Linked DNA regions of Homo sapiens: all the other regions are linked to region 1. The links are contacts of gene promoters, found by promoter capture Hi-C in human tissues and cell types (Jung and others, 2019). All regions are on one chromosome and are shown on one strand. Each heading gives the region's core, a stretch centred on a gene start or on the middle of the fragment in contact. The rest is flanking DNA. Distances are from core to core; before and after follow the strand shown. Region 1 holds the start of SGSM3 (small G protein signaling modulator 3). Region 2 overlaps TNRC6B (trinucleotide repeat containing adaptor 6B). Region 3 overlaps TNRC6B (trinucleotide repeat containing adaptor 6B).

Region 1 (3,421 bases), core at 131-2,630:
CGATTTGACCTGGTTTCTTCCTGGACTATTTGAATGGGTGGATTTGTTGGTGCATCTCTTGTCTTCTTTCCTTTTCCATTCTCCTTTATTTTTGTATTTACATACTTGTATGCAACTTTGTAATCTGATTTTCCCATGTAACATTTTAATTTGATGGGTGGTCTGCGTGTTCACTGGAAAACATATATATATTAAATGTACATTTATGTATATATATAAAATATACATTCATATATATTATATATAATATACATTCATATATATTATATATAATATACATTCATATATCTATCTTTTATATATATATATAGACAAGATCTTGCTCTGTCGCCCAAGCTGGAGTGCAGTGGCATGACCACAGTTCACTGCAGCCTTGATTTCCTGGGCTCAAGCGATCCTCTCACCTCAGCCTCTTGAGTAGCTGGGACTATGGCACACACAACCACACGTGGTTCATTTTTTGTTGTTTTTTGTAGAGACAGGGTCTCACTCTGTTAACCCAGGCTGTTGTATTTTCTTTAAGATTGGTTTAAATTCACACGGACTCCAGCATCAGAACTACCCAGATGTCAGGTTCTGGGCAGAACTTGGGGCAACTGATGAAATGTCTGCTCAGCTGAAGTCAGACACCTGGACACTTAATGCCCTCTTTCCCTGGCTGATGCTCAGTTTCATTTAAGAACCAGGAGAGCCTGATGTTTGTAAACACAGCTTTAGTGGAAGCACGAGGGTTAGGAGTCCCTAGAAAGGTGATATGAAGCCTAGGTGGATGTGAGGGTTGGTGAGATGGGAATTGCACAGCATAGAATCTGACACAGAAGGTACTCAGAAAATTTCGTTTTCCGGCCTGGCGCGGTGGCTCACGCCTGTAATCCCAGCACTTTGGGAGGCTGAAGCGGGCAGATCATCTGAGGTCAGGAGTTCGAGACCAGCCTGGCCAACATGGTGAAACCCCGTCTCTACTAAAAATACTGTACTAAAAATACAAAAAAATTAGCTGGGCGTGGTGGCGGGCGCCTGTAATCCCAGCTACTCGGGAGGCTGAGGCAGAGAACTGATTGAACCTGGGAGGTGGAGGTTGCAGTGAGCCGAGATCACGCCACTGCACTTCAGCCTGGGTGACAGAGCGAGACTCCATCTCAAAAAAAAAAAAAAAAAAAAATTAGCAAGTTATTTGCAGCGTCTATCTCCCACCACCCTGACTGCTGGTCCACACCATACTGTCCCAAGCTTCTCAGGCTGCGGTGCAGACGAAGAAATCATCGCTATGCATGCTGGCCTTGGGATGGGGGCGCAAAGCCCCTGGACGCGCCCCGCCTAGTGGGCGGGAACGACTACAGCCCCCAGCATGACCCGCGGCCGCCCATGCCACGCCCCGCCACGCGTGCGCTTAGGCGCCGCTGAGCGCTGACTGGGTGCGAGTGGGGAAGCTGCTAACCCGACCCGGATTGGCGCTGAGGTGGCCCGTGGGGCAGGTGAGTGCGGGGCGGGAGTCAGCGGAGACCCACCGGCGCCTACAAGTTCCCCTCAGGCGGGGGCTGCGGGGCGGCTGTGGTCGGACTGTCCGACCGAGGGTCGTATGGGCCGAAGGCGCCCACGAGAGAAGCACCGCCTCGGGCCGGAGAGCCGCCGGGCCGACCTTGCTCGCGTCGCCGTTGGAATGGGGGCCGGGGACGCGGCGGGGCGGGGAGGTCGGCTGCGTCCTCCGGTGCGGCCGCCCCTAGACGGCCGAGGCCACCTCAGGTGTTCGGGGCGCCAGCCGGAATCCACCGCGCTGGCAGCCGGGAGCGGTTTTACGAAAACCGCGCCTGAGGCGGGGGGCTTTCTAAAAAGAGCCTGGCTGGCTCTGGCACCGGGACAGCTGCAGACTCCTCCTCAGGTTTAACTTGCGGTTTTCCCTTTAAGATTCAGATCCAGGTGCAGAACCCGGGCTCGGATCCAGGCCCGAGACTCGGAACACCGGTGTGTTTGCATTTTAGCACGGGGGAAACTGAGGCATACGTTAGCCAGAATCATCCGGTGTGGTTAGGACTGGAATTTTGAAAATTATTCTCATACTTAGTTTACTGACCTAGGCTCTTTTTTATTTGGAAAGAAAAATAAAGATGTTTCAAAGGTTGTTTTCAGTGACTGGGTGACTAGTGTATCTTCCAGTCTCACGCTGCACGTTTGTGGTGGGTTGATGGCTCTTTTTTGTTTTGCGGTGGGATAGAGATGTCCTGGAATGTTCTACACCTTTCTTATTCTTTCTTAGTAAATTCAAGTCAAATCAGACTCTGATTCACAAAAACTCATTTTCAACTTCGACTCGTTTACTCGTAGTTTTTGTGACAGGTTTGTGATTAGGTTTATAGGTACATATGTTTCCCGCTTTTCTTGCTCTTTTAGTTCCAATTATCTCTGCACTCTAAACAGTTGAATTACATCTTTGTTTTTACACTATTTCTGTTCTTGGTGATTAATTTGTAATTCTTCTTTTCTTTTCTTTTCTATTTTTTTTTTAAGACGGGAGTTTCGCTCTTGCCCGGGCTGGAGTGCAATGACATGATCTCGGCTCACTGCAAGCTCCGCCTCCCGGATTCAAGTGATTCTCCTGCCTCAGCCTACCGAGTAGCTGGGATTACAGGCGCCCGCCACCACGCCCGGCTAATTTGTGTATTTTTAATAGAGACGGGGTTTTTCGCCATGTTGGCCAGGCTGGTCTCGAACTCCTGACCACAGGTGATCCGCCCGTCTCGGGCCTCCCAAAGTGCTGGGATTACAGGCGTGAGCCACTGCGCCAGGCCCGATTAATTTGTAATTCTATAGATATCTTTCCTGGCTTTTGATAATCCTAAGTGAATGTAGCTTTTTCATCCCTAATTATCATAGTAGCCTGAGCTTTAGTTCTTCTCCCTGTCCCCCCCCCCTTTTTTTTTTTTTTTTTTTTTTGAGACGGAGTCTCGCTCTGTTGCCCAGGCTGGAGTGCAGTGGCGCGATCTCGGCTCACTGCAAGCTCTGCCTCCCGGGTTCACGCCATTCTCCTGCCTCAGCCTCCCGAGTAGCTGGGACTATAGGTGCCCGCCACCACACCCGGATAATTTTTTGTATTTTTAGTAGAGACGGGGTTTCACCGTGTTAGCCAGATGGTCTCGATCTCCTGACCTCGTGATCTGCCCGCCTCGGCCTCCCAAAGTGCTGGGATTACAGGCGTGAGCCACCGTGCCTGGCCCTCCCTGTCCCTTTTTAAGCGTGGAGGTGTGTGGTCTGGGAGGGGAGAGGGTGAGGTGTCTATTGATCAGATATGGGTAATAGGTTAACATAACCCATGACCAGAACATTAAAAGGCTGTAAACAAACAATTGCTTCAATATAAAAACGCATACCTCGTGAATTTGGAAACATGTCAGGTTGATAGAAAAGTGAACTCGGGTAGAACCTC
Region 2 (3,044 bases), core at 10-2,509, 71 kb before region 1:
GCGGATCATGAGGTCAGGAGATTGAGACCATCCTGGCTAACACGGTGAAACCCCGTCTCTACTAAAAATACCAAAAATTAGCCGGGCGCAGTGGCGGGCGCCTGTAGTCCCAGCTACTCGGGAGGCTGAGGCAGGAGAATGGCGTGAACCCAGGAGGTGGAGCTTGCAGTGAGCCAAGATAGCGCCACTGCACTCCAGCCTGGGTGAAAGAGCGAGACTCCGTCTCAAAAAAAAAAAAGAAATGGCAGAGCTGGGTTGGGAGCGGTGGCTCATACTTGTAATCACAACACTTTGAGAGGATGGCTTGAGCCCAGGAGTTTGAGACCAGCCGGGAGGTCAAGGCTGCAGTGAGCCATGATCACGCCACTGCATTCCAGCCTGGGTGACAGAGTGAGACCCTGTCTCAAAAAAAAAAAAACAAAAAAAAAAAAAAAACAAAACTGGGGAGGCAGGCAGAGCTGGGATTACAAACCCAGGCAGTCTGCCTCTAGAACTAAAGTCTTTTTTTTTTTTTTTTGAGATGGAATTTCACTCTTGTTGCCCATGCTGGAGTGCAATGGCACCATCTTGGCTCACCACAACCTCCGCCTCCCAGCTTGAGGCAATTCTCCTGCCTCAGCCTCCCTAGTAGCTGGGATTACAGGCATGCGCCATCACACCCAGCTAATTTTGTATTTTTAGTAGAGACGGGGTTTCTGCATGTTGGTCAGGCTGGTCTTGAACTCTTGACCTCAGGTAATCCACCCACCTCAGCCTCCTGAAGTGCTGGGATTACAGGCGTGAGCCACCACACCCAGCTCTAAAGTCTTTTTTTAACCTTTTTATTTTTTTAAAGAGATGATAGCTCGCTATGTTGCCCAGGTGTTCTCAATCTCCTAGGCACAAGCTAGTCCCCCAAACTGCTGGGATTACAGGTGTGAGCCACTGTGCCCAGCCTCTAGGACTAAATTCTTGGCCATTGTGCTACACTACTTGGCACTCACGGACACGTTCTTAAGCTTGTTCTCCATGGCCCCAACTAGTCCAGTGGGTTCAGTAGATGAGGGTGCAGGGAAACTCACTTCTTCTTACTTAAATCATCTTAGAGGAGCAAACCAAAGATAGGAGGGAATCCTCTGTCGCCAGAGCTTCCTGCAGCCTCGCCTAGCTCACTCCTGAGAACAGGGAGAAGGACCCTGCCGGGTCAGTGACCTTCCAGGCTCTTTGATGCTGGCTCTTTTTTTACACTGCCACTCTGTGGGTGTTTGCTATCAGAAGCCATGCATTGAAACTCATGTCTTCTATTTACAAGTTAATATATTTGTCTTACTTGTAGCACAGAAATACTTTCACGTAAGTATTATTTATTAGCTTTATGCAATGTAGCATGTTTTGTTTTATGGCACATTTCCAGTAATAATTTCTTGGTTGGATAAAAGCCATATTGTCATCAATTTTTTTTTCTTGAAGATGTTTTCCTGAATATAAAATTTATACTTTTTATTGTAGAAAATTGGAAAGTCTAAGAAGAAAATTTAAAAACTGTTGTAATCTCACTGCTCCAAGATAATCATTGTTAACCCTTGAGTGTATTTTTCCTGTTATATATTTTTCACAGAAAAGTTTGACAACTCTTGCTTTAGATTCATCAAGATTCTTTTCACAGAAAAACAGTTTTATTTTGATAAATTCTGAAGATTCCTTTTCTTTTCTTTCTTTTTTATTTTTTTGGCTAGGTTTCTGCCTCAATGCTCAAGCAGTTTCCCAACAGTGGCCTGAGTCCAGGTCTTTTCAATGTGGGGCCCCAGTTATCTCCTCAACAAATTGCCATGCTGAGCCAGCTTCCACAAATTCCCCAGTTTCAGTTGGTAAGTAGAAGATTTTCTTCCTGTGGCTAAAAAGGTCATTTGCTTTTTTTTTTTCTTTAGCTTTGATTTGCTTCCCACATCTTTGCCACTTTCTATGTTCAAAGGGTGCTAGTCCACACTTCTTTGCAAACTATGGAGTGTGCTTAAGGGTTGTCAGCTCAACTGGAGGAAAATGTAACCAAGAGACCGGGAATTTGGTGTTACTTCCCTCCTGGATACTTTTGATTGTGTGACCTGTACTTCAGTGCACAGACCCTTTAGGTGTCCTCAGTAAATCAATCTCAGGAAACTTTGGTTTTCTGTCTTTCCCCCTTGTTTTGTAGGCATGTCAGCTTCTCTTGCAGCAGCAGCAACAGCAGCAGTTGTTACAGAACCAGAGAAAGATTTCTCAAGCTGTACGCCAACAGCAAGAGCAGCAGGTACGTGGGTAGGCAGGGTCCCTCCAGTGCTGTGTTGGAGGAGTACATCCCGGCTTAGCCTCTGATGGCAAAGAACCGGGCACAGTCTTTTCCTGGGAAGTTCGGGGCCGTGCTTATCACGTGTCTGTCTCTCTTGGCCCTCAGCTGGCTCGAATGGTGAGTGCACTGCAGCAGCAGCAGCAGCAGCAGCAGAGGCAGCCAGGCATGAAGCACTCGCCCTCTCATCCTGTTGGGCCCAAGCCGCATCTGGACAACATGGTACCCAACGCATTGAATGTGGGGCTCCCAGACCTTCAAACCAAAGGGCCAATACCTGGATATGGTTCTGGTAAGTTGTTGGTAGAGAAAATTACCTTTTTAGAAATCTACCTCTCTAGGCCTGTGGTAGGGGTTGCACCTGCATTACCCTCCTTTTTTATGTCAGCTGTACAAGGTAGGTAAATATTCTTATCCCTGGTTTACAGATGAGACATCTGAGGCTTCTTGAGTTTCAGTGGGTTTCCAGAGCTCACCACATGGTTACTAAATAGCAGAGCCAGGCCTCTAACTTCTCTGGCTCCAAAGCAGTCTTCCTTTTTTTTGTGTGTGTGTGTGTGTCTGGTTTATTTTATTTAACACAGTAAAGGCTCATACATGCTATAGCACATATCAGAATTCATCCCTTTCTAAGGCTGGGTAATACTCCATTGTGCAGATATACCACAGTGTGTTTACCCACTTTTCTGCTGAAATGGATAAACTTGGATTGTTTCCACCTTTTAACTACAAGTTGAGCATC
Region 3 (3,351 bases), core at 185-2,684, 110 kb before region 1:
TTTAGCAGTCAAAGCAGTACTACCCCCAGAGTTGGCCCTGACGTTACCCTGGGAGGCAGGGATTTGGGCCTCAGAATCATCCGAACTGTCAGGCTTGATGATTATTTCTGTACGACTTCCAGCCTCTATTTGCCAGGTAGATTTTTATGGAGAGGGTAGTGATCTTCTGGCAGCATGCAGCGAGGGAGGTACAGATCTAAGAGAGCCTTCTCTGTATGTTCGACGGGAAGAGCCAGAGGGTCCGGCAGAGTGCGGTTTCACGGTTGCCCCGACATTCCCACGCTGTGTGCGGGCCATTTTTAAAATTAAGTTTAAAAAAATCAAATGATTTAAAGTAAACAGAAAAAGTATTTACATTTTGAAATTTCTATTTTAAAGAATTGGGAAGAAACACTTTTTTTTTTTTTTAAAGAAAAGCAAAAAGATTTGTAACATTTCTAGTATTTACACAGAGAGCGGTGCAAGTCTTTGAGTCCAGGTAGCTGTAGAAACCAGAACCAAGCTGAGTTTGTGATTTTCTAGGCCTGGAGTTTCTTGTAAGAGTCCACTCTGTGCCATGCCCTAAGGAAGAAAGAAAAGATGAAAGATGGGTCCTTGCCCTCAGGAAGTCATGGCCTGGTGAGGGAGAAGGACTTGTAAATGGAGAATTTCTGTGATAGAGAGAGATGGGACTTGTAGATGGAGAATTTCGGTGGTAGAGATAGATGGATTTTTGAATGGAGAATTTTCATGGTAGAGAGAGATGGATGATGTGTTCCAGGAGCACTTAGGAAGAATGTTTAGCCCATCTAGGCCAGGGGCTTCAATAAAGTTTACTCAGGGGTAGATCTTTTAAGAATGTGGATGAAGGGAAGGGACCCTTGGACTGAGGCTTGAAACCTTTCCCAAGGACTTTGCCATGGACATTTAACTCTTCTAGGCAGCACTTCAGGGAATTAATTCCACTGTTGATTTAGGGGAGTGAATGTTGATTGCTTCCCTCTCCGCCTTAATTAATGGAATGTATTCCATGACCTTGCTGTGTTTAAATTCTTGTCACTGTCAGCCGCCACCTTCATCCTACCTTCAGCAAACTGGAGAGATTGTGGAGAATTTGGAAAAACTGTTTCCCTTGAGAGTAGAGTAAAAGGAGAAGTTACTTTGTTAGAATTGGTACCATGTAAGCTTTCTTACAAATAATCTTAGCCAGGGTCTGGGTGTGGTGGCTCACACCTGTAATCCCAGCACTTTGGGAGGCCGAGGTGGGTAAATAGCTTGAGTTCAGGAGTTCGAGACCAGTCTAGGTAGGCAACATGGCAAAACCCTGTCTCTAGAGGAGGAAAAAAAAATTAGTTGGGCATAGTGGTGTATGCATTGTAGTCCCAGCTACTCAAGAGGCTGAGGTGGGAGGATCACTTGAGCCCTGGAGGTAGAAGTTGCAGCAAGCCAAGATCACTGCACTCCAGCCCGAGTTATACAGCAAGACCTCATCTCAAAAAAATAAAAAATAGGCTGGGTGCAGTGGCTCATGCCTGTAATCTCAACACTTTGGGAGGCCAAGGCAGGCGGATCATGAGGTCAGGAGTTCAAGACCAGCCTGGTCAACATAGTGAAAACCTGTCTGTACTAAAAATACAAAAAATTAGCTGGTTTTGGTGGTGGGCGCCTGTAATCCGAGCTACTTGGGAGGCTGAGGCAGGAGAATTGCTTGAACCTGGGAGGCGGAGGTTGCAGTGAGCGGAGATTGCACCACTGCACTCCAGCCTGGGCGACACTCACACTGGGTGACAGTGTGAGACTCCGTCTCAAAAATAAATAAATAAATAAATAAATAATAATCTTGGCCAGGCACAGTGGCTCACTCTTGTAATTCTAGCACTTTGGAAAGCCAAGGTGGGAGAGTCCCTTGAGCCCGAGTTCAAGACCAGCATGGGCAACATGGCAAGACCCCATCTCTAAATAAAATAATAAAATTATTTTTAAAATTTTTAGAAAAAATGTATTTGATGTATTTCAAAGACTGTTTCCCAACCCCTCTCTTTTAGTGCCCGAAGTGACGAAACCAAGTTTAAGCCAACCAACGGCCGCCAGCCCAATTGGCAGCTCTCCATCGCCACCAGTCAATGGTGGCAACAATGCCAAAAGGGTGGCAGTGCCGAACGGACAACCGCCAAGCGCCGCCCGCTACATGCCTCGGGAGGTGCCGCCGCGATTCCGTTGCCAGCAGGACCACAAAGTGTTACTAAAACGTGGGCAGCCCCCTCCACCGTCCTGCATGCTCCTTGGGGGTGGGGCAGGGCCTCCTCCCTGCACAGCACCTGGAGCAAACCCAAACAACGCACAAGTGACAGGAGCGCTGCTGCAGAGTGAGAGTGGGACTGCGCCAGGTAAGGCACCCTGTGAATCGAATGCATGGCAGCTTGACAGAGAGAGAGCACTTTGTTTGCATTGCTTGATGTAAAGTCCAGGAAAGCCATTCATTATATAAACCACTGGGATTAGTCAAAAGATGAGAGAGGATCCTAGTATGCGATGTGTATTGGTGATTCTTGGAACTGAGGTTTAGTGTTCCGTAAGTGTGTGCTCTTGGCATAAGGGCTAACTTAACTGCTGTTGCTTATTATTTTGGGGGCCTTTTTTCCTTCTCAGACTAGAGTGTTACAAATTTGAGCCTCCATAGTTCCACCGTCATATGTGTTCAGGGCATAATTGGACATGGGGCTTGTGCGAAGGCGAATCTTTAGATGCCTGTGTTATGTTTCCAGAATGCTAGGAGGATAGAGAAAATGATTTGCTACATTGCAATATAGAATCTTCGGAGGATTCTAAAATAATACTATAGTTTTTAAATTAGATTTTTAAACTCAGTATTTCTTTTTGTGGGCCCTGGATTTTGAGCTTTGTTAAAAACTGTATGTAGAAATAAGGGATATTTAGCTGAAAGGTTCTACTAGAAGTTTTGAGAGTTTTTGGCCGGGCACGGTGGCTCACGCCTGTAATCCCAGCACTTTGGGAGGCCGAGGCGGGTGGATCACCAGGTCAGGAGATCGAGACCACCCTGGCTAACATGGTGAAACCCTGTCTCTACTAAAAATATAAAAAAATTAGCCAGGCATGGTGGCGGGCTCCTGTAGTCCCAGCTACTCGGGAGGCTGAGGCAGGAGAATGGCGTCAACCCAGGAGGCGGAGCTTGCAGTGAGCCGAGGTCGCGCCATTGCACTCCAGCCTGGGTGACAGAGCCAGACTCCGTCTTAAAAAAAAAAAAAAAAAAGTTGTGAGAGTTTTTAATAGATGAATACTAAGTCAACTAACAGCTAAGAAATTCTAAATATCTTTTAAAGTTTATTAACAGATTTCAACTTAAAATGTCTT

What was found. The method cuts DNA at HindIII sites, captures the fragments that hold promoters and counts their contacts. A contact is called where the count stands out against the background at its distance.
Region 2: a contact is called between a fragment that was not itself captured here and the fragment with the promoter of SGSM3 in region 1, in 6 of the 25 tissues and cell types used here (H1 embryonic stem cells, IMR-90 fibroblasts, dorsolateral prefrontal cortex and 3 more).
Region 3: a contact is called between a fragment that was not itself captured here and the fragment with the promoter of SGSM3 in region 1, in 2 of the 25 tissues and cell types used here (IMR-90 fibroblasts and pancreas).

What each region holds. Positions count from the first base shown.
Region 1 is chr22:40,369,214-40,372,634 of GRCh38, forward strand. It overlaps SGSM3 (small G protein signaling modulator 3), which reads left to right and starts at 1,381. Exons shown (of 22, transcript NM_015705.6): 1 at 1,381-1,475. ADSL (adenylosuccinate lyase) reads left to right here. Exons shown (of 13, transcript NM_000026.4): 13 at 1-154. RefSeq lists an enhancer at 1,067-1,276 and silencers at 1,427-1,536, 1,597-1,766. The HindIII fragment of the contact is 4,461 bases long and covers 1-3,421 here.
Region 2 is chr22:40,298,740-40,301,783 of GRCh38, forward strand. It overlaps TNRC6B (trinucleotide repeat containing adaptor 6B), which reads left to right. Exons shown (of 23, transcript NM_001162501.2): 13 at 1,716-1,847; 14 at 2,171-2,266; 15 at 2,411-2,594. Among named protein-coding and RNA genes, the nearest start is that of ADSL, 46 kb to the right of the region's middle. The HindIII fragment of the contact is 7,080 bases long and covers 1-3,044 here.
Region 3 is chr22:40,259,808-40,263,158 of GRCh38, forward strand. TNRC6B (trinucleotide repeat containing adaptor 6B) reads left to right here. Exons shown (of 23, transcript NM_001162501.2): 4 at 2,025-2,366. LOC124905121 (a long non-coding RNA gene) reads right to left here. Exons shown (of 2, transcript XR_007068107.1): 2 at 1-561. Among named protein-coding and RNA genes, the nearest start is that of TNRC6B, 84 kb to the left of the region's middle. The HindIII fragment of the contact is 8,779 bases long and covers 1-3,351 here.